7 separate regions of the Homo sapiens genome follow, and regions 1, 2, 3, 4, 5 and 7 are each linked to region 6. The links are contacts of gene promoters, found by promoter capture Hi-C in blood cells and fetal thymus (Javierre and others, 2016). All regions are on one chromosome and are shown on one strand. The core of a region is centred on a gene start or on the middle of the fragment in contact, and the rest is flanking DNA. Distances in the headings are between cores, read along the strand shown.

Evidence for each region. Contacts are between HindIII fragments. The CHiCAGO score rates a contact against its expected background, and 5 or more counts as called.
Region 1: a contact is called between a fragment that was not itself captured here and the fragment with the promoter of RAI14 in region 6, in 3 of 17 cell types (endothelial precursors, naive B cells and total B cells). The highest score is 10.4, in endothelial precursors.
Region 2: a fragment that was not itself captured here is called in contact with the fragment with the promoter of RAI14 in region 6 in 4 of 17 cell types (naive B cells, total B cells, endothelial precursors and 1 more); the score reaches 7.9 in naive B cells.
Region 3: a fragment that was not itself captured here is called in contact with the fragment with the promoter of RAI14 in region 6 in 3 of 17 cell types (endothelial precursors, M0 macrophages and M1 macrophages); the score reaches 18.1 in endothelial precursors.
Region 4: a contact is called between a fragment that was not itself captured here and the fragment with the promoter of RAI14 in region 6, in 3 of 17 cell types (total B cells, naive B cells and endothelial precursors). The highest score is 6.7, in total B cells.
Region 5: a contact is called between a fragment that was not itself captured here and the fragment with the promoter of RAI14 in region 6, in 3 of 17 cell types (naive B cells, total B cells and endothelial precursors). The highest score is 5.3, in naive B cells.
Region 7: a fragment that was not itself captured here is called in contact with the fragment with the promoter of RAI14 in region 6 in 3 of 17 cell types (naive B cells, total B cells and endothelial precursors); the score reaches 8.4 in naive B cells.

What each region holds. Positions count from the first base shown.
Region 1 is chr5:34,895,535-34,899,113 of GRCh38, forward strand. TTC23L (tetratricopeptide repeat domain 23 like) reads left to right here. Exons shown (of 11, transcript NM_144725.4): 10 at 1,236-1,341. The coding sequence ends at 1,244. Among named protein-coding and RNA genes, the nearest start is that of RAD1, 18 kb to the right of the region's middle. The HindIII fragment of the contact is 6,562 bases long and covers 1-3,579 here.
Region 2 is chr5:34,877,212-34,880,710 of GRCh38, forward strand. TTC23L (tetratricopeptide repeat domain 23 like) reads left to right here. Exons shown (of 11, transcript NM_144725.4): 9 at 2,970-3,097. Among named protein-coding and RNA genes, the nearest start is that of RAD1, 37 kb to the right of the region's middle. The HindIII fragment of the contact is 1,870 bases long and covers 545-2,414 here.
Region 3 is chr5:34,487,924-34,491,659 of GRCh38, forward strand. No RefSeq gene overlaps it. Among named protein-coding and RNA genes, the nearest start is that of RAI14-DT, 170 kb to the right of the region's middle. RefSeq lists an enhancer at 2,991-3,566. The HindIII fragment of the contact is 2,461 bases long and covers 1,226-3,686 here.
Region 4 is chr5:34,851,396-34,854,787 of GRCh38, forward strand. The region is part of intron 4 of TTC23L (tetratricopeptide repeat domain 23 like); the gene reads left to right. The region is part of intron 1 of LOC124900959 (a long non-coding RNA gene); the gene reads right to left. Among named protein-coding and RNA genes, the nearest start is that of TTC23L-AS1, 14 kb to the left of the region's middle. The HindIII fragment of the contact is 1,914 bases long and covers 1,066-2,979 here.
Region 5 is chr5:34,813,477-34,816,884 of GRCh38, forward strand. It overlaps RAI14 (retinoic acid induced 14), which reads left to right. Exons shown (of 18, transcript NM_015577.3): 11 at 98-184; 12 at 1,107-1,193. Among named protein-coding and RNA genes, the nearest start is that of TTC23L, 24 kb to the right of the region's middle. The HindIII fragment of the contact is 5,167 bases long and covers 1-3,408 here.
Region 6 is chr5:34,654,277-34,657,768 of GRCh38, forward strand. It overlaps RAI14 (retinoic acid induced 14), which reads left to right and starts at 2,052. Exons shown (of 18, transcript NM_015577.3): 1 at 2,052-2,199. It overlaps RAI14-DT (RAI14 divergent transcript), which reads right to left and starts at 1,897. Exons shown (of 3, transcript NR_183264.1): 1 at 1,717-1,897. RefSeq lists a silencer at 2,010-2,059. The HindIII fragment of the contact is 8,769 bases long and covers 1,078-3,492 here.
Region 7 is chr5:34,832,777-34,836,361 of GRCh38, forward strand. No RefSeq gene overlaps it. Among named protein-coding and RNA genes, the nearest start is that of TTC23L, 4.6 kb to the right of the region's middle. The HindIII fragment of the contact is 4,892 bases long and covers 1-3,585 here.

The DNA of each region.
Region 1 (3,579 bases), core at 178-2,677, 240 kb after region 6:
TTTGATGGGTATAAAGCTGTAGAAACCAACAGAAGGAGCAGGGAGAACCATCCTTTTCTCCTCATAAGAGGGGAGTAAGGAAGGTGCCTCAATGCCTATTAAACTATTAGTGATATTCAGTCCTCTTGGTCATATGAACAAAATGGAACAGCCTCTTTTGGGCTGAGGGGCTGGAGAAGGAAAGTAGGGTGGAGATGGGGATTTGGGAGGTGATTATTTCCAGAGAGAAGTGAGCAAGGAAAAAGAAAGGAGGTGATATGCTGCAGTACATTTTGTATCAGCCAGACCAGTCTTGGGCAAGACCTTAGTGATGAAATGTATGTTCCATAAGCTGGGTTGTTTCCAGGCTGCTGCATTCATCTTCTTTTCCTATTATTTATTAGTAAACATTCCAACACTCCATCTACAAAATTAAGGAGGAAATATCTGGCCAAACCTTGGTATGAGTGAGTGAGGAGCACAATCTGCTCCACCAGAGCCAGGTAGCCAAACAAGGGGCAGCAGCTTTTCCAAATCAGGATTCTAGGACTAGCTGGAGGCATTGGGGCAGGTAGAGAAGTGAAAACTCAGAAGCCTTTAGTTCCCTGCTTGAGGGTCTCTTTTATGGGGAACAAGGGCTGCTAAGCCACAGTGAGCCAGCTCAGTGTACCTTATCTTTAGCAGAGCAGTGGGGAGCTCTGCAATCCCCAGCTACTCTGCCACGCCCACAGAAATGGTCTGATAGGAGAGGATAGCATGGAATAGGGCAGGCAGAGCTTGAGGTTCCAGAGCAAAAGGCTGGGTTTGGTGGAGCTTGATTATTAGTGTTGTCTGCCCTGGGGTACGGGTGGGGGAACAGCTGGACTTCTACCACATACTTGCTGTTCAGGTATAGAGAAAGAGCACTGTACTCTGAGTCAAGGCACCTTGTGTGTGAATCCCAAAAACCATGCGACCTTAAGTCACTTAAACATTGAGTCTCAGTTTCTTCATCTTCATTCATTCCTTTAACAAACATTTTTTGAGCACCTACTAAGTGCCAGGTGCAGTTAGAGCTGCAGGTGGTAATAAAGATAAATAAAACATGGTCATTAATCTTAAGGGGACAACATTCTAGTGTAAGAGAAAACATGAAGAAATAATAACATGAAATTTAAGTTCTGGAATAGCATTCTCAGTGCAATGAAAGGAGAGACAATCTATGAGAATTGGAAAACACTTCATAGAGAGGGTGACATTTGAGCCATTTCTTAAAGGACAAGTAGCAGTTCATCCAGATGGAGAAGAGAAGCCATTCCTGGAAGAAGGAACTCTACATACAAAGGCACAGAAGCATGACAGAGGGCAGTGTATGGAGGAATGGTAAGTACTTTACAGCTGTTGTACAGGGCAGCATGTCCTGAAAGGGGCTGCAAGAAATGCTGATTCCAAGGGATGTGTGCCAGTTCTCTGGGGGAGGAAGAAAGGCTCTGTAGCAGAAAGACAAAAATCATTTAAGGAAAAAAAAAAACAAAAAAAACAGGTTTAAACAAAGTGACACAGGTTACTTTTCTGAAGGGCTTCTCAGGACTTTTAATATACAAAACCTTCGGCTGGGTGCTGTAGCTCATGCTGTAATCCTAGCACTTTCAGAGGCTGAGGCAGGTGGATTGTCTGAGCTCAGGAGTTCGAGACCAGCCTGGGAAACACAGTGAAACCCAGTCTCTACTAAAATACAAAAAATTAGCCGGGCGTGGTAGCATGCGCCTGTAGTCCCAGTTACTCGGGAGGCTGAGGCAGGAGAATTGCTTGACCTGGGAGGTGGAGGTTGCAGTGAGCCGAGATTGTGCCACTGCACTACAGCCTGGGCAACAGAGCAAGACTGTCTCCTAAAGAAAAATAAAAAAAAAATTAAACATTAAAAAAAATACATATATATACAAAACCTTCCTTATTGGCATGTTGGGAACAAATCAGGTTTTTAACATTTTTATTTTTATATTTTAAATTTGTAGTGACGAGGTCTCACTATGTTGCCCAGGCTGGCCTCCAACTCCTTGGCTCAAGTGATCCTCCCGCCTCAGCCTCTCAAAGTCCTGGGATTACAGGCATGAACACACCATACCTGGCTGCAAATCAGTTTTTTAGAAACCATTGTATTTTACATACCTAAAGTCTTTTTGAAATGATCAGTGATTTAAATTTTGGCAAATAAAACCTTGCCCTGTCTTTAGAATCAAAGTAGAGAAACTAAGGTTTGGTTTTGTTGAAAGCAAAGGGTGTAGTGTATACTTGCCCTGAGGGTATACATGAATACTTTTGCAGTTTGGTAAGGAATTTTGGCCCCACTTTAGGACATAAAGTCTTTATGAACTATGATTATCTCATCAACTATTTAATCTGATCATAGAAATATGACTTCAGTGCATCCCTATGAATTAATCTTTTTGATTCATGGTGGTTAAGAGCTGTAGTTCTGGAGACAGGCAAGCCTGAGTTCAAACCCCAGGACTACCACTTTCTAGCTATGGGCAATCCTGGTTTCTTCATCTATAAAATGGGGATGAAGTATAGTACCTATCTCAGTGTTGTTGTGAGAATAAATGAGATAATGCATTATATGTAAAGTGCTTAGCAGAGTGCCTGGCCCCATAGTAATCATGTACTAAGTAACAGCTATTTTTAGTTTTACTGAAAGCTGGTCTTTGACTTTATTACCTTCTACTGGCACCACTGTTGCACGAAGCAAACGGAGATAGGGGCTGAATATTTTGAAAAGCTACTACCAAGCTGATGTGGAAAATATTTTGCTGGTTAACATCTCGAAAAAGATATAGACTTATCAGGTTCTGGAAACACTGTTAGTCTCATAGACAAGCAGTCTGACACAGTCACCTAAACTCAAAGATAATATATACACTATGGAAATCAGTTGTCCTTTCAGGTTTCAGACAAGGGGAATCCTGCCACCTTGTGGTGCGACAGAAGTAGGCCCGAGGCTGATTCCCACTTACTATCCCTAGCAGAGATGCAGCCCTCTTACAGTTCTTTGCCCACCTCTGAATTTATGAGACCCCTGGGCAACTAACTTAATCTGTGCCTATTTCTTCAGCTAATTTGGAATCTCATTATCTCCTGGTTTACTGCAAAGGAAGTTAAAGTGCCAGATAGCTTTCTATATTTTATACAGTCCAGTAATAGAGAATGAGCCTGTCTTTAGTGCAACTTGCATAGAAACCCCAAGTTCATAAAATTTTGTATTTCATATTCTACAGAACAAATATTCTTTTCAAGTAAAAAAAGGGCTATGAAAACCACTTTTTTCAGGCTTGAGGTAGAAATAGGAGGTGACTAAAGAACACTTAATAGTAACTGTGTTTCTGGAGCAGTCTTTTGGATCATAATACATCAAATTCCTGCTCAGCTCCTTCAGTAATGGGAAATCAGAGGACAGACATCTCAACGGCTAGAAACAAGCAAGAGAGATCTTTCACAGGGCCTCGGGCTGTAAGTCTCCGAGCTCGTGAGAAGAAACCACTTGAAAATCATCAACTATATAAAAGGCCCTAAATTAGATAAGTTTTCCACCTGGGATTTAAACAATCCAGGTGGCTCAAATAT
Region 2 (3,499 bases), core at 230-2,729, 220 kb after region 6:
CATAATCATATCAATAGATGCAGAAAGAGCATTTGGGAGAATCCAACACTCATTTATGATTAAAAACTCTCAGCAAACTAGGAATACAGGGGGATTTCCTCAGCCTGATAAGTCACATCTACAAAAAACCTGCAGCTAACACCATTGTTCTTTTTTTTTTTTTTTTTTGGTTCTCCTTTGACTAACACTATTATTCTTTTTTCTTTCTTTCTTTCTTTTTTCTTTTTTTGAGACAGAGTTTCGCTTTTGTTGCTCAGGCTGGAGTACAACGGTGTGATCTCAGCTCACTGCAATCTCTGCCTTCTGGGCTCAAGTGATTCTCCTGCCTCAGCCTCCTGAGTAGCTGGGATTACAGGCACCTGCCACCATGCCTGGCTAATTTTTGTATTTTTAGTAGAGACGGGGTTTCACCATGTTGGCCAGGCTGGTCTCGAACTCCTGACTTCAGGTGATCCACCCACCTCGGCCTCCCAAAGTGCTGGGATAACAGGTGTGATCCACTGTGCCCAGCCAACACCATTATTCTTAATGGTGAAAAACTAGAAGCTTTTCTAAGACTGGGAACAAGACAGTTTCCTCTCACCACTCCTTTTCAGCATCATAATGGAAGACCTAGCTAATGGAATAAGAGAAGAAAAGGAAATAAAAACTATACTATAATATTTGTGAAGGAAGAAATATAACTTTTTATTTGCAGATGACATCGTCTGATTAGAAAATTTGAAAGAATCAACAAAAATATCTGGAATTAATAAGTGATTATAGAAAAGATTCAGGATACAAGTTTAATATGCAGAAGTCAATACTTTCCTATATACCAGCAATGAATAAGTAAAATTTAAAATTTAAAACAATACCATTTACATTAGCACTCCAAGAAAATTTAAAACAATACCATTTACATTAGCACTCCAAGAAATGAAATAATTAGGTATAAATCTAGCAAAGTATTTGTGAAATATATGTGAGAAAAACAACAAAACTCTGATGCAAGAAATCAAAGAACTAGCCAGGTATTGTGGTGTGTTCCTGTAGTCCTAGCTACTTGGGAGGCTGAGTTAGGAGAATTGCTTGAGATCAGGAGTTTGAGACCAGCCTGGGCAACACAGTGAGACCCATCTCAAAAAGAAAAAAATAGAAATCAAAGAACTAAAATAAACTAAGATATCTTTAATATCTATTCCATGTTCATGGATAAGAAGACTCAATAAAAAAATATAAAGTTCTTCCAACTTGATTTATAGATTCAACTCAATTCCAATAATAATCTCAGCAAGTTATTTTTTGGATATTAGCAAATTGATTCTGAAGTTTACATGGAGAGGCCAGAATAACCAACAACATGGAAGAACAAAGTTGGAGGACTAACACTACCCAACTTCAAGACTTACTAAAAAACCACAGCAATGAAGACAGTATAGATGAGAAATCATCTTACTGTAGTCACAGTGGCTATTATGAAAAAGACAAAAAAACAAAAACAGATGTTGGTGAGGGTGCAGAGAAAAGGGAACTCTCATACACTGTTGGTGTGAATGTAAATCAGTACAACCTCTATGGAAAACAGTACGGAGATTTCTCAAATAACTAAAAATAGAATGACCATTTGATCCAGGAATCCCACTATTAGGCATCTACCCAAAAGAAAAGGAAGGTATATATCAAAAAGATTCCTGCACTTGTATGTTTATCGTAGCACTATTCACAATAGTAAAGATAACAGAATCAGTCTAAGTATTCAGCAGTGGATGATTGGATAAAGAAAATGTGGTACATATACACAATAGAATACTATTCAGTCATAAAAAAGAATGAAATCATGTCTTTTGCAGCAAAATGGATGGAACTGAAAGTCATTATCTTAAGTGAAACAAGCCAGACACAGAAAGTCAAGTATCAAGGTTTCACTCATAAATGGGTGCTAACAAATGTGTGCACATGGGCTTAGTGCAGTGTTAGATAATGGAGACTCATAAGGGTGTGATGTGGGGTGGATGATGAGAAATTAATGAGTACAATGTATGTTATTTGGGTTATGGATACTCTAAAAGCTGTGACTACTATGCAATTTATACATGTAACAGAATTGCACTTGTACTCCATAAGTTTACACACAAGAAAAGTATGGTATTGGCAAAATTTTCCCATTGTTTCTGTGTATTTTCTAGATTGATATAAACGTATTATGTTTGGAAAGACACAACATTAAAATTAAATTTTCAAGCCATAACAACTATATATTTAAAATACTTATAAAATCACAACTTACTCCCTCCCAGCACCCCCCAAACAGGAACCTTAGTAAACATTACTATCAGAGTTTTATTTAGCTAAAAATATAGTCTTGCAGTATACCTGGGAGTTTAATATGGTAGTTATTTGTAGTATTAGCATAATAAGATTATTCAGACAGAAGCTTTCTTTTTTGCTACAAAAAATTCCATGGATTTTATAAGGAGAATAAAAACCAAAACATCATCTGATGTCATTAAATCACATTTTAGGGCTCGGTGCGGTGGCTCATGCCTGTGATCCCAGCACTTTGGGAGGCCGAGGTGGGCGGATCACGAGGTCAAGAGATTGAGACCGTCCTGGCCAACATGGTGAAACCCCATCTCTACTAAAAATACAAAAATTAGCCGGGCATGGTGGCGCACACGTGTAGTTCCAGCTACTCGGGTGGCTGAGACAGGAGAATCACTTGAACCCAGGAGGCAGAGGTTGCAGTGAGCCGAGGTTGCACCGCTGCACCCCAGCCTGGCAACAGAGTGATACTCTATCTCAAAAAACAAAAGAAAACAACAACAGCAAAAAAACCACACATCTTAGACTTTTAAAGAGTCCTTATGAGACCTGGCTTGAGAACAAGCATGGACTTTAAGCATGAAAATGTCAATTGAGCCAAAGCTGATATTAGACATTTGTAAAGGTTAGCAGCTTGCCTTAAATAATTGTTTCAATTTTTCCAGATGCTGTTGAGATATATTTCATAAGAAGTATCAATGCATATCGAGCAACATTGGGCTCAGAGGATTTTGAAACACTGAGCACCACTGAAGAATTTTGCAAATGGCTTGTCCAAAATGGAGAAAAACAGGTAAATATGATCAATGCATAAACAGAATTGCTAGTTTGTTTATTAGATCACAATAGCATTTTTCATCTTACAATTCAGATACTGGAGATCAGATAGGTCCCAGATAAAACTAGGCAAGAACCACATTGTTTCATTCTTTGCTAGCATTAACCGAATTATTTTTTTTTCAGATTGGTTTCATTCTTTTGATGAAACTGAGCAACTCTGTCCGACAAGATTTAGTTTGTACTTGGAAACTGCAGAGTAGGCTCAAAGTATTTTAGAGGGACTCGATATTGATGGCAAAAGAAAATTGGCAGCCATATGTTTGCTTCTAACGGTTCCCTCTCTGACAAACTTTTTTTTTTTTTTTGAGACAGGGTCTCTGTCACCCAGGCTGTAGTGCAGTGGGGCGATCTCGGC
Region 3 (3,736 bases), core at 1,206-3,705, 170 kb before region 6:
CTGAGCAGGGGCTATTTATTAGTGTTTCCTTTACTGTGTGGGGCCAAGTACTGAGGGTGACTCTGACCACGCAGAGCAGAGCAGGACCATCATCCTCCTGTTCTGGACTCTATACTTTTATTATTACGGCCAAAGATAGTGAGCATTTTTTTTTTTTTTTTTTGATTCACATGACTCCTCTTGCCTGTTGTTATGTCACATCTCTTTCATCTTGTACTTCACTCGTTTGGTCTGGTGACTCTAAATGCCAGACCATATCCCTAAGAATTGTCATTGGAAACATCTGAGATGCTGTTCCAGCCTGCCAAAAGCTTTTGGATCTTCATTTTATCACCCATCATAGGATAAATGTATGCCAATACTACTTTTGTCTATTTATTTAGCAAAGTTTCATTGTATTTTGTTTTGTAAGAAACTGAGTTTAGCAGGAGAGATAATAGAGTCACTGAGCTACGCAGAGAAATCATAGAAAATGTGTAAGCGATCTAGTCATTCTACTTCTAGGAATTTATCATCAGAAATTGTCGGGGACATAAGCAGGTTTGAATGCTTACATTTTTGCCTCATTATTATTTATAACAAAAAAAATGAAGCCCATTTACTGCCAAACAGTAAGGGAATGTTTACATAAATTTTGATATATTAATTTAATAAAATATATTGCCACCAATAAAAATGTTGTTGACACATACATCCTCAAGACATCAGAAAATATTATAAAATACATATGCAATTTATTTAAGTTTAGAAGAAACTAAAACAAAAATCAATAATGTTTTGATTTTTGTCTTTTTATTTTTTTATTTGCCCCACCTTGGAGAAACTAATGCCTTTTTATTTTTAATAAAACATAAACTGAAGCAAATATACCAAAATGTTATCTGTGGGTTATCTCTGGATGATGGAGCTTTGGTGATGTTGTTGTCATCTTTATACCTTTCTCTATTTTTTTAACTTTATAATAAATATGTATTTCTTCTCTTATAGAAAATCTTTTTAAAAGAAAGCTTATTTCATGATCATTCACAGAACTTCACTATTGATAAATTCTTTGCATTTTTATGCTATGGGACTTTTTTTTTTTTTAAGCTGTGATAAAGCCCAGAGTTTCCTTGGCTTCTCCTACTCGTGTGCAGATAGCAGAGCCACCCCCGCCCCACCACCACCCTGTGTTACTAGACCTTCCTGTTGAGCCAGTCCTCCACCTTGGAACTGACAGCTCTGAAGCTTGATATCTTCACCCTCCTGTCCATCAACAGCTCCTCACAGTTTTGGTCATTGCTGTCCTCTACCTCGGGCTCAGCCTTGCCCATGTTCTGAGTTTATCAGGCCAGCAGCAGAAAGAACATCAGCATGTCAGCCTCAGACCTAGTGTGACCTGACATCATGTCACACGCCCATCTCCTGGGTTCTGTGTTCTGGGAAGAACCCTGGGTGTCATGGAGATTTTAAGTAAAAGGGTTTCTGTGCTTGGCAACCACAGAACTGAGCTTCTGCCTCGATTTCCCTATCATCATCACCTTACTTCCATATTAAGATTAGCCCTTGGGGCCCCAGCCTATTTGGCTGTTGTCTTGTCATCCCACCCAGGTCTTGCTAGTGATACCTTTATCCCCTCACCTTTCACGCCCTACCTGGGCTCCTCATGATCCCCCAGAGCCAATAGTGTCTGCCACCCGGGGTTTCTCCTTGTCTGTGCTCCTTGCTGGGCTGGGTGTCTGGCTTCTCTCCCTTTCCCAGTGTTTATTTTTCCCATGTGAGTGTCCTCCTCCTTTGCTGCCTGCCTGTGTCATCAAGGACTCAGGATGCCTCATGCTCCAACTAAGGCGCCCTGTGACATTGCACATGTTAAACATGTGCAAAACAGGAGGAGTTGGGGAGAAGTATTGGGGGGAGGGGATTATCTTTAAAATGTATTTTTTCAAGCCAGGTACGGTGGCTCATGCCTGTAATCCCAGCACTTTGGGAGGCTGAGGCAGGTAGATCACTTGAGGTCAGAAGTTCGAGACCAGCCTGTCCAACATGGTGAAACTCTGTCTCTACTAAAAATACAAAAATTAGCTGGGCATGATGGCGGGTGCCTGTAATCCCAGCTACTTGGGAGGCTGAGGCAGGATAATCACTTGAACTCAAGAGGCAGAGGTTGCAGTGAGCCGAGATCACACCACTGCACTCCAGCCTGGGCAACAAGAGCAAAACTCTGTCTCAAAAAAAAAAAAAATTAAAAAAGTATTTTTTATTATGAAAGTAGAAAATAAAAATTATATTTCTCTCACTGACAAATAACCTTCACTGCTTAATATCTTAGGTTTTCTTCTAGTCTTTTTGATTGCTATGTAATTTTTACAGTTGTTGAAACTACTTAAAGGACCCAGGAATGGTCTTGTCAGTCTTCTACTTTTTTCTTTCCCTTTCCTTCTCTCCCTTCTTGCCCGTCCTTTTTTGACTACTGGTACATAAGGTAAGTTGGAGTGAGGGGGAAGAGGTACAATTAATTAGCATCTAGTTATCCCATTACTAAACGTGGTTCCTTGACTGGGTTGATTTGTTTGGATGCGCAGCCTCCTTACAGGTACCAGGTACCAGGAGGAGTCACCCTCTATAGACTAGGGAACTTCACCTTCCGTGAGATTTAGTGGCTTGCTCCTCATGACACAGTTAGCGAGAGGCAAGGCTGAATTCAAGTGCAGGCTTCAAAGGCCATTTCTCTGTGTCCCTGTTGTAAGCACTGGGCCCATGGGATTTGACAACCATCAGCCTGGGCTCAGATTTCAAGTGGGGAAAAGTATCAGCAAGTGAGTGGAGCCGGAGGTGAAAGCAGCAGCAAGGAAACAGCGGCTGGCCGGGGGTGGGCAGGGGGCGGGGGTGGCAGGGGCGGGAGGGGAGGGTGGCGGGGGCAGTGGTGGCGCGGGGGGGTGTTGGCGGGGGCGGGGGGGCGGTGGTGGCTGTGGTGGGGGGGGGTTGGCCCCTCCTGGGCCCTATGCTGGGCTTTCTGGAGGAGCTCCACAGAGCCCGGGCCTATTTTCCCATTGGAGAAACCACTTTTGTGTTCTTAGACACAAACTTTGTTTTTAGTCTATTTGTCCCTTTCTGGTGGGCCATTGATCAGAGGAGCAGCCATGAGGCCCACCCAGCAAGAGCAGGCTTTGCATTTCTCTGGATTTGTATGTGTGTGTGTCTGTGTGTGTGTTTGTGTGTGTGTTTATTGTGGGGTGAGGGTTTCAATCACACACAGGATAGAAGGGAGTTCCCCAGGGCTCCCACCAAACTGCACAACCTTCACAGTAGCCAGTCCTCAGCAGCACTGGCTGTTCTTCTATCAGCTCCTCCTAGATCTTCTCCTTAGGCTTCTGAATGACTCCTCATTCATTTTCTCTGAAAAGAAGAAAAAAGTATCCTCAATTGCACTCATATTAGTGTCTGCCCTCTGGGAGTCGGCTTTTTCTAAGCTGAATGCATGCAGCAGACATGCAGAATAGACCGTGGGTGAGCCAGACGCTGGGGGGATGGCAGGGACAGCGGGAGCAGGCAGCCTGTCTCAAGATGTGGCCCTAGGCAGACTTCAGCGAGTCCTGCAGTAAACTGTTCATTTATTATCCCACAAATATTTACTCCAGAGCCACTAAGTGCTCGAGAGAGATGTGACACCATCTGCACAGCTTTCTAGTGACTGAATCCAGAGGTAAAGCTTTGAGAATCTGCGGCCCTGTGCTGCCAGGCTTAGCCCATGTGTCCC
Region 4 (3,392 bases), core at 773-3,272, 200 kb after region 6:
TTAGGGCTCTATAGGCCCTTTTACACCCATTTATTTTTAATGCAACTTTAGATTCATTTATTGATGTGGCAAGATCACAGGTAGCTGAGATCACAGCATTAGGACAGTGATGCTGTGGGTCACAGTGGGGGCACAGCGAGGCCCTTTTATGCTTTAAGAACACGTGTTGTGTTCTGAAAGAAGGTGCTATGGCTAGGGAGAGGAGAATGTCCTTATGTACTGGCAGAGCAGGCAGCCACCTCTATGAAATTTCAGAGTGACCAGGAAGGATCTTCCCCTAGTGGCGTTCCGTGCTTCCTTACTTGGAATCTCTCTATTCCCATCAGACTGATTTTCTCAAAAACTTACTGCCTTCATGATAAGAGTCAAATTTAGGGATTTACTCCTTCAGTACTTATGGAGTTCTTGTTATAAGCCTGGTGGCACTTGCAGTCAGTGCTGGGGATACATAAATGAATATTGGTGGTCCCTATGCTCTAGGAGCACACAGGGGTCTTATGATAGGTACCATTCTAGAGGTAGGAACAAAATTCTGGGGAGGCAGTTCAGTGGTATTGCCATTGAGGAAAGTCAGGGAAGGCTGCCGAGAGAAAGTGATATTTGTCCTGTCTTTGAAGAATGAGAATAGGTTTATCAAGTAGATTTTTTTACTTTTTATATTTTTATTTTTGTAGAGATAAGGTCTTTCTACGTTGCCCAGGCCGATCTCAAATTCCTGGCCTCAAGTGATCCTCCCACCTCAGCCTCCCAAAGTGCTGGGATTACAGGCGTGAGCCATGGCACCTGGCCCCCAAGTAGATTTTGAGGGGAGAAGTAGAGAGTACAAAGTTGGTCCTTTATATATGTTGATCTAAGGCATAGGAAGTGAGAGGAGGGCACTCTGTATAAAACTCGTTACACAGAATATTGTAGCTTCTCTGTAGACCCAGGGGGTTAAGGTAGGACGGAAGACACCTTAGGACAGACAGCTCATGTTTGGAAATGGGACTGAAAAGGTAATTTGGGCCCAGATATCAGGGAGTGTGGAGAGTTATTAAAAGGTTTGAAGTGAGGTGGTAATAATCAAGCTTGTGTTATAAAATGAGAGACTCCAGGATGGGTTGGACTGGGTAGAGAAAGAAGAGGCAAAGACCAGTTAGGCCGTTATCCTGCCCAGATGAGAGTCGATGAGGGCATTGGGTATGGCAGTTGGAATGAAGAAAGATAACCTAAAATGTAGAATGGGTGACATTTAGTGCCCCATTCAGTATGGAGTGGGAAGGACAGGGAAGAATTGAAGTTGAAGTAGGCATGACCTGGACAATTAGCTTAAATCGAGAATGAAAGGGAAAGACCAAGTGGTGGGGTGTATTAGTCTGTTTTCATGCTGCTAATAAAGACATACCCAAGACTGGGTAATTTATAAAGAAAAAGAGGTTTATGGATTCACAGTTTCATGTGGCTTGTGAGGCCTCACAATCATGATGGAAGGCCAAGGAGGAGCAAAGGCACATCTAACGTGGCGGCTGGCAAGAGATCATGCAGAGGAACTGCCGTTTATAAAACCATCAGATCTCATGAGATGTATTCACTATCACCAGAACAGCATGGGAAAACCCTGCCCCTGTGATTGAATTACCTCCCACTGGGACCCTCCCATGACACGTGGGGATTATGGGAGCCACAATTCCTGGTGAGATTTGGGTGAGGACACAACTAAACCATATCATGGAGGAAGGGGGAAGAAGCTACTGAGTTTGGTTTCTGAAAGCAGGTCTAGAGCTCAGGAAAGATGTTAGTCTGGGAGAAATGAGCACATAGGAGCAAGTTGAGGCCATAGGAGTGGATGAGCTTGATCAGAAGTAGTGTGTAGTGGCTGGGTGTGGTGACTCATGCATGTAATCCCAGCACTTTGGGAGGCTGAGGTGAGTGGATCACTTGAGGTCAGGAGCTGGAGACCAGCTTGGTCAACATGGTGAAACCCCGTCTCTACTAAAAATACAAAAATTAGCCAAGTGTAGTGGTGTGTGCCTGTAATCCTAGCTACTCGGGAGGCTGAGGCAGGAGAATTGCTTGAACCAGGAGGTGGAGGTGGCAGTGAGCTGAGATCGCACCACTGCACTCCAGCCTGGGCGACAGAGCGAGACTCTGTAGTAGTGTGTAGAAAGAGAGGGGAAGAGAATAGAGGACTGAAGACTGGAGAGCAAGAGCTTTAAGAATGGGTAGGGTAAAGGGGGGCCAGCAAAGAAAATAGAAGACTCAGGAGGACCCGTGTCATCAAAGCCAAGGGAGGAGAGAGGGTTTTGAAAAGAAGTACAACAGTGGTTTCAACAGTTCAGATGGTAGAGGAAGGTCAAATAAGGTAATGGCTGAGGAGAGACCCATGGATTTGGCGGTTGGTAGGTCATTGCAACTTGGTTTGGTAGAGACAAGTACACTCCTTGGGCCCTGGGAGAGCCCAGATTCACAGAGACTAGCTAAGGGTTTTTCACTGGAATTCAAACTTGAGGTGATGAACTTGAACTGAAGAGGAAGGCATTTGAGAGGGAGATTTCTCTGAAACTAGGCAAGGCCAGATGCTGCCCTCTCTGTCTTGCCTTGAAGATGACTAGGGTAGGTCTAGAAGGAGGTTGGCCTAGATCTTCTGAAATCAATCCCTTCCATAATGAGCCACAAACTGCCTTTGAGTTTTACTTTTCCAATTAGATTCCAAGTTAAGTCAAGATAAGTGAACAGGTTATACCACAAAACATGGTGATAAATCCTTTTCTCCCTAACTGACAGTTTTTCCTGCTGCATGAATAGAGAACTACGTTGGGGCAATAAGTTGGAGGAGACACAAGTTTTCCTGTACGAGAGACTTTTTTGTTTGTTTTTCCTAGATGGGAAAGGCAGCTTGCTGGTCAGATGAAGTGTCCACATGGTATAGTGGAGCCTAGACTTGAACCCAGATTTTCTGATACCAGCCTAGATTTTTTTTTAGAATAGGTTGTGACTGTAAGCTTTCTTTGAGAATAGCCCAGTGCCTCTTTGCTTTCTTCACTTAAGCTTTTATTTCAGTTTCTTCACTTCAGCTTTTTTAGTGTCTGGTCCATGGAATAAGTAAGGCTTTGAAAAATGGCAGATCTTCAAGAGAGATGAAGTGCTTGCTCAGCTCCACTCAGTGTTGTTGTCATTCATCCTCTAACTGCTTTAAAGTGGACAGAATATATAAGCTGGCCTCCTGTGTAGGCGGATGTGTGTGTCTGTGTGCGTTCATGCCTCACTGCACCCATTCATGTTTTATAGTCATCAGCCCTGCTTTGCTCATTTCACTTTGAGCCTTTTCCAGCAGCCAAAAGGCTAATTTCTCTCAATAAACAGTCATTCAGTGAGTAGTGAGAAACTTGTATATGTGAAATGCCATGATGAAC
Region 5 (3,408 bases), core at 541-3,040, 160 kb after region 6:
TTTTGAGGTTTTTCTCATGTGTTTGATAAAGCTACTTGCCCAGACTTTACTAACCAAACTAACCCACCTCCATTCTTTGGACTGTGATAACTTTCAGCATGACCAAGTCTCTAAAATAAGCTCAGAAAGAAGTGGAACTCCAAAAAAACGCAAAGCTCCACCACCTCCTATCAGTCCTACCCAGGTAAAAACAAAAGCAAACCAACAATCAATAAACGCACCACAAGAAAGCCATAAATTTGTCATTTTGTTTAGGCCAAAAAGGAATGTTTTAGAACTGACCTTTAAGTGCATATTTAAAATTTTCCTTAGCAGTTTTAAATTACAAATTGTGGTAAGAAGGATTGATGATTAGTATGGAAATAATGTTGATTCTTATCTATTTTTAAAAAAACAGTAGAATCGAATAGCCTCTTTTTGAAAAGTCTCAAGGAAATTTCTCAAAATCTTATCACAGAAACTTTCCCTTAAGATAAGTTCAATTTATTTTTAGTTCCTTATGTTAAAAGATCTAGTAAGGACTGGGAGAATGAGTAGCCATTGAGGCAATTAGTTGAAAATGAATTTCAGTTCGTTTCTTAAAACATTGCTGCAATACATTTGCCTTTTTAATTGCTTTTAAGGTTGGCTAATATTAAAAGTAGTTTTCATTTCTGAGCTTTATAGTGACGGTTGCATAGAGGAGGAAGCTCAGTAATCTATGTAATGGCAGGTAAAAACACATCGAAATTTGTTATTTAAAAATTCATAGGCCATAAAGAGAATAATCCATATTTAAATAGTAGAGAGGAATAGCTCATCTCATAAGTATTTTTTAAATGTATGTTAGCATACTTATTAATATTCTTAACCTGCAATAGAAGTTTTATAGATTTTTAAAAAAGTGATTCTAATATAGGAGCACAGTTATATTCTGTAAACTTTCAGAAAGTATTTGAAGTAGCTGAATTGCACTGAAAATATTCTACCCGTGAATTAATTGATGCCAAGGATACTTACTGTTAGATTTCATTGCATTGGTTAAACAGGTTGATTCTTCGGCACTGGAGAAGAGGAGTTTGAAGATACATTCTTTATTAATGATTTTCATTTTGTTTCTTTTTTAGTTGAGTGATGTCTCTTCCCCAAGATCAATAACTTCGACTCCACTATCGGGAAAGGAATCGGTATTTTTTGCTGAACCACCCTTCAAGGTATTTCCTTTCTGTATTCAGTTTTGTTACTGTATTTTAAGATACATGATAGACTTGCTTTAAGTTATATAACACTGGGAAAAACAGAATATACTTCTGAATCATTGGTTCACAACCTTTTCACCATGAAGTACCCCTTGATTATTTTTTCTGGCATGGACCCCATAAAGCAAGAATGTGTACAGCTAGTTTGTATCCATAATAATTTAAAATTTTTAAAAAATCATTGAGTGAATAAATTAAATTTACAAACCAATAATTGATTTTCTTCATTTAAAAAAAAAAGAGACAAGAGGGCTGGGTGCAGTGGCTCACACCTGGAATCCCAGCACTTTGGGAGGCCAAGGTGGGCAGATCACCTGAGGTCAGGAGTTCAAGACCAGCTTGGCCAACAAGGCGAAACCCTATCTCTACTAAAAATACAAAAACTAGGCCGGGGTTGGTGGCTCACGCCTGTAATCCCAGCACTTTGGGAGGCTGAGGCAGGTGGATCACGAGGTCAAGAGATCGAGACCATCCTGGCCAACATGGTGAAACTCCGTCTCTACTAAAAGTACAAAAATTAGCTGGGCATGATGGTGCGCACCTTTAATCCCAGCTACTTAGGCGGCTGAGGCAGGAGAATCACTTACACCCAAGAGGCAGAGATTGCAGTGAGCCGAGATCGCGCCACTGCACTCTAGCTTGGCAACAGGGCGAGACTCCGTCTCAAAAAAAAAAAAAGAAAAGAAAAAAATACAAAAATTAGTTGGGCCTGGTGGCAGGCACCTGTAGTCCCAGCTACTCAGGAGGCTGAGGCAGGAGAATTACTTGAACCCAGGAGGCAGAGGTTGCAGTGAGCCAAGATCGGGCCACTGCACTCCAGCATGGGCGACAGAGCGAGTGTCTTGTGGTGGGGAGCAGGGACAAAGTTTACTTATATGGAATCTAAAAAAGTTGAACCCATAGAAGCAGAGAGTAGAATGATAATTGGGGGAGTGGTGGGAGGTATTGGGGAGATGTTGGCTAGACGGTACAACATTTCATCCAGATAAAAGGAATAAGTTCAAGAGATCCATGGTACAACATGGTGACTATAGTTAATAACAATGCATTGGATTCTGAAAATCACTCAGGGAGCAGATTTTAAGTGTTTTCATCACAAAAAATGATAAGTGTGTGAGATTAATTAGCTCCATGGCCTTTTCACATTATGTACGTATTTGCAGACATCATGATGTACATGGTAAATACATACAACTTTTATTTGTCAACTAAAAAATAAATTAATTTTTTCAAAAATAAGGTGTGGAAGTTACCAGCTTCTACCTGTTATTCTCCTCATTCTTTCCTGAATGCAGAATATTGAGGAAATGCCAAAAATTATATTTCAGGAACTTCTCTATTTATAATGAAATATTCTAGATTGGATCCTGGGACAGAAAAAGGCCATTATTCGAAAAACTGGCGCAATTTGAATAAAGTTGTAATTTAGATAGTAGTAATTTACCAATTGACAAATGTATAATGGCTACATCTGTTGTAAACATTAGAAGAAATAAGTGAAGGTTTCTATCTTGCAACTTTTTTATAAATCTTAAATTGCTCCAAATACAAAGTGCTAAAGTTTTTTTAAAAAGAGACAAAGATAAGAACTTACTAGATAAGCAGTCTTCTTACCCAATTAAGTTTATATTAATTCCAATCAAAGAGACAGAAACTTGTGTTATTCTCTGTTGTCTTACTGAGAATTGTATAGTTAATTTTTTTCCTGACTATAAAAGTAATATGTATTTATTTTACAAATGTTAGAAAATCCATTAGGTTTTATCCACCTGGTTCTGTAGATTTGTGGTTGCAAAACATTTTAAGGAAGTGGGAGGATATTTCCATTTAATATCTGTTTAATATACTGAGAAATTGTACTCAAGGGGGAAATAAAATTTATAATTGTTAACATGAAATTTCGATATTTTATATTTACTTACTTTCCCTTATTTAGAATTATTAAAGATGTTTTTTTTTAACTTGGATACACATTAATCTGAAACAGATTCTATCAACCTATCATTTCCCTCACTTTAGACTTTACTAATAAACTCTTCAGATGAATTTCTATGTAAGACAAGGCAACTATACTCTTATAGTTAGTACGATAATATCTTCTGATATGACTGTGCCTCAAAGAAGCAGTGCAATCCGAAGAATATCACAAATTATGATTTTTCAGAGGTAG
Region 6 (3,492 bases), core at 802-3,301:
CTAAAACGCCTGGGCAACACAACCAATAAGAAGATGCTATTGAACCTCTTACTTCCCCACTAATCCCCCTGCAGTTGGCAGAACTTAGCTGCCATGCTCAGTCTACAGACTACAAAGTTGCTTTGAGTTTCAAAAGTGGGGATCTGGAAAAGGATCTTGGCACAGCCCAAAAAAATAAGAATACTTTCACAACGATCCCTCATCCAGAGTTAGACTTGCTGACTTTAGAGGGTGGGAGTGTAAACTAAGGAGAATCATATACAAACCACCTATGGGAATCTAAGAGGTGATAGGCTGGTAGGCTCTTTGGAGGTGGCTGGGACAGAGAAAAAAGAAGAGGGACAGGACCTCTGTGAATCAAAGTCAGATGTGCCTGCCTTAGACAATCATTGTTTAATGTTGTCTAATATTTTAACTCCTTCAAAATGTCAACTGTTCCTACAGAATACACACATGTCAAATTTCCAAGACAGCATCATCTACCTGTACCATGCTCCAAATCCCATCCTCCCAGCTGCCCCTACTTGAACCAGACTGACCTGCAAAAATAGAGCAGAAAACTCACAGGCAGTAATGTTCCCCTTAAATACCCTACAATATGTCATTAACAAGAATCACGATGAAACACTATTGTAGAAATTGCCAGCATTAAACCAAAAGAATGTTGGTCAGTTCATGTTTCTTTTACAGTGTGACTTTGTTTGAGAGGGATAAAGGACAGGAAGAGGAGTGTACATCTTGCTTTAGCTGTTCCTCACTTGGCTAAGGAACTTTTGCTGTAGGAAGTGAAGACCCTGCACCTAGTTACAAGGCTTTTGATGCTTGTTTGTCAAGTTCAACTGTTAAAGGGGAGATAGGCTCTTCCCTAGTAGGGAGAGGGAGGAAGGAAAGGGGGATGGGGCGGGGGGAGGGAACAGGTAATATCTGCCATATAAATATTAGTATGTAGCTGACACGTTATAAACTGAGCTGTTAGGGTGAATTTCAATTTTGTTGGAATCGACCTTTTTTCCCTCTTAAGTTCAATTGACTTACAGTAGATCCCAGAAAGAACTCAATACGTTATTTATTCTAGAAAGCTTTCTTCCCTGAGCAAAGGAGGCAGAGCTAACGAGGAGAAGGGAGGAGCTTAGGTGAACAGAACTGAAGTCACAGCTGGTTAGCATGACTAGAATGCATGGAAAAGCCAGCCCAAATTAGATGAGTGGGTAGATAGAGAGCTTTGAAATCCTTGGAATTAATGGTGGAGTCCATCGTAATTGAAAGGTCGGGCCTTAGTGGGCTGGGATAGGGAGAGAAGCTGTCGGGGACCTGGGGCAGTGAGCCTGTACCCCGTGGCTTCTCACACACTATTTTGAAGGCGTTCCCATGCGCAATCTCGCCTGTCAGTTCAGGCTGTAGGTTTCTCCTTTCTAACTCCTGAGCAGAACAACACTGAACGGTGGTAGTCTTGCCTTGCCACCCAATGAGTGCTAGAAAACAGTCACTTCAACCAATTGGTTCAGTCCGGAGAACGTGAGCACATTCTACTTTACTTTCTGTTCAATGATTTTGGAAAACAACCTTTTAGATTCTGGTCAGAAGGGGCTTGGATCCGTGACTTTGAAACACTCGCCACTACCACAAACGACTTTGGAAGTTAATCAGAAATAAACAGTATCTGGGATCTCATCCGTCCTAAACCCAGGGGTCAGAGCGTGGGGGGCTTCCACTAACTTCAGGTTAAGAGGATGAAACAGATCCGCGGAGAAGGGTCCCACGATCCCTGGAGACTAAAAGCAAGCCACGAACAGCCGGGACGCGCGGGCCGGGGAGATGCGCCGGGGGCTGGAGGGCGGAGAGCACCCCCCGCAGGTCCCGGCCAGAGCCCGGGGCCGGGTCACCTGACTCGCGGAATTTGGGGCCGCGAGGGGTGGAATGGGAGGGGAATGGTTAGCGCCTCCCTTCCCGCTCCCACTGGATCCAGGTCGGCGGGGGCCGGCGCCCGGCGGCCACGTGGTGGTGCTGCCGCTGCCCCCGCCCCGCCGGCCTAGCCCGGGAGCTCGGCGCCCACTGACCCCCGCAGCGGGGGAGGAGGAGGGACTGCGGCGCAGGAAGCCGAGCAGGAAGCGAGCCCGGCGGCCGCGTTTTCCTGGGGAAGCGGCGGGCGGGGTGGAGCAGCCAGCTGGGTCCGGGGAGCGCCGCCGCCGCCTCGATGGGGTGAGTGCGCGGCACGGAGTTGGGAGGCTCCCGGCGCGGGGTCCCGGGCTCGTGTCCCCGCCTTTGTGTCTGGAGCTCGGGCGCGGGAGGCGCTGGGGACGGCGCCCGGGCGGAGCGGCTGAGCGGGCTGCAGCCGGGGTCCCGCCACCTCTCCCTGGTCCACCGCCGGCAGCCCACTGTCTGCGGAGAGCAGATCTGGGGACAAGAGGAAGGAGAGGAAGGTGGAGATGAGGGTAGAGCGGGAAGACCCGGCCAAGTTAGGAGAAGGGTTCTTCCCGGGTCCTCCGCGACTCGCAGGCCGGCTGGGGCGGGGCGCGGGGCAGGGGCCGCGGCGGAGGGAGCGCGGGTGGGAATGAATGAGCAGACCCGGAGATGCACCCTGGAGTCTGCGCCGGGTCCCACCTGTTTCGCCCCGCGCGGCGCCTCGCTGCCCCCGCGTCGGTGCTGCTGAGCCCAATCCGCCTCCCGGCTGAACTTGGAGGAGGTGGGGAGGGAGGTGCGAGCGGGAGACTCCGGGTGGCTCCCAGGACGCGGGGTCCGCTATTGTTCCTCCTCTGACTCCAGGGAGCCCCTCGGCCGGCCCAAGGGCGGGGGCGAGACCCCTCTGGGCCTGCCCCTGCCCCCTACCTTGTTTTCCCCGCCGCAGCTCGGGGAGAACGGATGCTGGAGTTGGGGCAGACTCGGGGCCGCCGGGACTTCGGGAGTAAGGAGGACGTGGAGCCACCAGAAAGGCGCCCGCCATCTCCCGCGACCCCTGCCTGGTGGGGGGTGGGGGGTGGGGTGTCGTCCTCAACCACCTTCGCTGCCTTCTTGGGCAGGTTGGTGTCGGTTTAGTTTCTGCGGTTTGCAGGGTTGACATCCTAACTCCTTTGAGTTTCGCATCCCCCTTTTGTGGAGGGGGCTCAGAGCCTGGAGAAGCAACAGACGGGGAATTAAGGCAGATGCAGCCCAGCACAGCGTGGAGGGGTCCGAAGTGGCCTCACGGGGGCCTGAGCATGGCTGTCTTTCCAGGCTCCTCTTTATTTGCCAGGAGCCCAGCTAAGCCCAACTTTACTCCCAGAAATGTTGAGGGGAATCTGCGGACTCGAGGCCCCTCGCCTCGGGACCAGCGGCTTCTCTTCGCCGCAGCTCACGCATGATCGGGGTGGGATTCCGTCTTCCTTCCGGGAGAGGAGAATGCCCAGCTGCCTGGGATGGGGAAACGTTGCCGGATCTCTGGGGAATGTGGTCTCAAGGCTGCAGGGGCCTGGCAGAGAGGAACTGTCCATCACTAGGACATAGCCGAAGCTCGCC
Region 7 (3,585 bases), core at 703-3,202, 180 kb after region 6:
AGCTCTTGGATTCGCCCTGAGCTCTGCCCTGAGTATCAGCCGCTTTGGGGCAGTTGAATCACAGTTGCCTTTAATTCACAATTGCCTCTCATTTAATCTGCAGTCTGTTTAACTGTTTGGAAGCCTCCGCTGGATTTTTTTTCCCTCTTGCTTCTTGCTTTTTTTGAAAAAGTAATACATACATATGTAAAAAAAAAATCCAGATACATTTTCCTGCCCCATTACAAAGACAATTCAATTAATTCCTGACAAAACTCTTGTCAGGTGAATTCTGGCAAGGTTAAAATCATAATTAAAATTGTTGCAGGTTATAATCATAATCAAAATTACATGAAATAGGTACAGCTACTTAAGAAGTTAGCATTGTTTATCATACTCCAATGTAACAAGGCCATTTCCCTTCACTTACAACATGATTCCACCTCTACTTCAGTTTCATTGTGCCTTCCTACTATACCCTGAAACTTTATTTCAAAGAAAGCATGTGTGTGATACTCAACTGAACCTTTTATTTCAACTGTGGCCAACCAGACAACTCAGAAGGTGACTTCATGGGGACACTCAGCTGGAGAGGAAACTGAGATAAACCCAAACCAGTCATCTCTGATGGACAGAAACGCCTCATAAGGCAAAATTGGGATATGAAAAGAAACTCTCCTGCCTCCACAATTAGATAGCAGCTGAGATTGTAGGACAAATGAAAGGAACCACAAATAAATCTTTCTCTTACTCCCCAATCCTTAGTGCATCTACCCAGAAGCAACATCTAGTAAGTTTCTTCGGTGACCTGAGACATTCTCTGTCTATATGTACATGTAGGCATGTATTTTTCTTTCTTCTTTAAATATCTTGGATATTATTCTCTGTCAGCATACACATCTCATTCTTTTTAACTGCTGAATAAAATTGCATAGTATGGTGCTATATTTTATCTTGATAATTCCACATTATGGACATTTAATTGCTTCCAGTATTGCAGCTACAAAAATGATGCAATTGACTATCCTATGTATGTATGTATATCTTTACACGTGTAAGGATTTTTTGAATTTTCAAATTGCTCATTTTTACATTAGCTTCCATCAAGATATGGGCAGAAAAAAAATGAATAGAATATTGTTCGTATCATCACATTGAGAAAGAATGGCCTTTCCCTTCATGTTGTTTGAATAAGAGTCATTAATTTGTTTTCCTTACATACACTTTAAGACAAACTCCAAAGCCTTTAATAATTAAACCCACCCATCTTCAGATAAACACATGATACGCTGTGAGGGGAAAACACTCCCTGAACATGTTGAAGCACAACATTTTGCAATGCAGCATAACAAGAATATTGAGTGCTGACAGTAGCAGAAACATTATGCAACAAAGATTGGGGTCATTTTTTGAGCAAAGTTAAGCAGCAGACTGCAAGGCCAAGAGTGAGCTGGAAAAAGCCACAGACCAAAGAACTAGGGCTTTCACAAGAGTAGCAATTTTCTATTCACCAGATCAGGGCAGAGATTTGTCAAGCATTATGGGAGCGTGTGACATATTTGAGAAACAAAAGAACAAGGACTCAGCCATAGGAGCTGGGCAAGGGAACAATCAACATAGGTTCCAGCAGATGGAAAGGCTCCTTTGAGAAGTAAAGCCCCCACGAGGCGAGTAGGAGGAAAGCAGAGACATTCCTGCATACTTACTATAAAGCAGGCTCTAAAATGGGAAGAAACAGCATATTCAAGAACCGTAACTGGATGTACCAGATTATAAAGTGGAGGATACATAAGAGTATTAGTCCGTTTTCATGCTGCTGATAAAAACATACCCAAGACTGGGCAATTTACAAAAGAAAGGTTTCATGGACTTATAGTTCCACGTGGCTAGTGAGGCCTCTCAGTCATGGTAGAAGGCAAGGAGGAGCAAGTCACGTCTTAAATGGATGGCAGCAGGCAAAGAGAGAGCTTGTGCAGGGAAACTCCCGTTTTTAAAACCATCAGATCTTGTAAGACTTATCCACTATCACAAGAACAGCATAGGAAAGACCCACCCTCATGATTCAATTATCTCCCACCACGTTCCCCCCACAACATGTGGGAATTCAAGATGAGATTTGGGTGGGGACACAGCCAAACCATATCAGTAAGGGATGGAAAGAAGCAGGACACAGTCAAATGATGCAAGCTGCTAACAGCCAGGAGAAGAGGGCTCCTTATGTGTCACCTCCATATGTTTTTAAAACCATGCATTTAAGTTACACACTCTAGTAGGCAGAATAAGTCCTCCCAAAGACATCCATGTCCTAATCCTCAGAACCTGTGAATATGTTAGCTGTGAATCTAACCTGTGAATAAGTTACATGACAAGGAGGAATTAAGGTTGCTGATAGAATTAAGCCTGCTAATCTGCTGACCTTTAAATAAGATTATCCAGGTGGGCCCAGTATAACAAGAGGGGTCTTTTAAAAATGGAAAGAAGGGTCAGAGATTTGAAGATGCTGCATTGCTGCTGGCTTTGAAGATGAAGAGAACAAATCAAGGAATGCAGCCAGGCTCTAGAGGCTGGAAAAGGTAAGAAAAAATTTTCTCCTTGAGCTCCCAGAAGGAGCCACCCTTGCAGACAGCTTGTCTTTAGCCCAGTGACACCCATTTCAGACTTTCAACCTCCAGAATTATACAATAATAAAGTTGTGGTTTGTTAAGCCACTGAGTTTGTGGTGACATTACAGCAACAATAGGAAACTGATACACACAGGGAGAATCTCTACTAATGGAGTTCCTAAAGGTCATTTGTAGTTTATGTGTTTTTTTTGTTTTGTTTTTCTTTTTTAACACTGATATATCCCAGGCACTGTGCTGAATGCTAAAGGCTCAATGATAACAACTCCTGCTCACGAGGAGCTCATAGCTGGCCAATCAGGGCCTGCTACCTAGCAGGTATTCTGTATTCACTGAGTGGGTAGATGAATATTTAGACGGATGAATTGCCTATAAGGCCCTCCATGACCTGATGCCCCACCACTTTACTGACACAGTCTTTTGTCTCTTTCCTCCTCATTCTTACTACCCTTGGCTGTTCTTTGACCCCATTAAACTTGTTCCTGCCTCAGGGCTTTTGCACTTGCTGTTAACATCTTAGAATGTTCTTCTCCTAAATATTTGCACAATTTGTTGCACGATTTGAGGTATCTTCTCAATGTCATCTTGTCAGAGAGGCCCTGTTTAACTACACTATGTAAGATGGCACACCCCTCCCGCCATGGCCACATCACCTTCTAAATCCCTTACCTGGTTTTATTTTTCTCCATAACTGTTTATCATGTTTTCTTTTTCTTTTTTCTTTTTTTTTTTTTTTAAGATGGATTCTTGCTCTTGTCACCCAGGCTGGAGTGCAATGGAACAATCTCGGCTCACTGCAACCTCTGCCTCCCACGTTCAAGCAATTCTCCTGCCTCAGCCTCCCAAGTAGCTGAGATTACAGGCACCCGCCACCACACCCAGCTAATTTTTTACTTTTAGTAGAGATGGGGTTTTGCCATGTTGGCCAGGCTGGTCTCGAAATCCTGATCTGGTGATCCACCCGCCTTGGCCTCCCAAAGTGCTG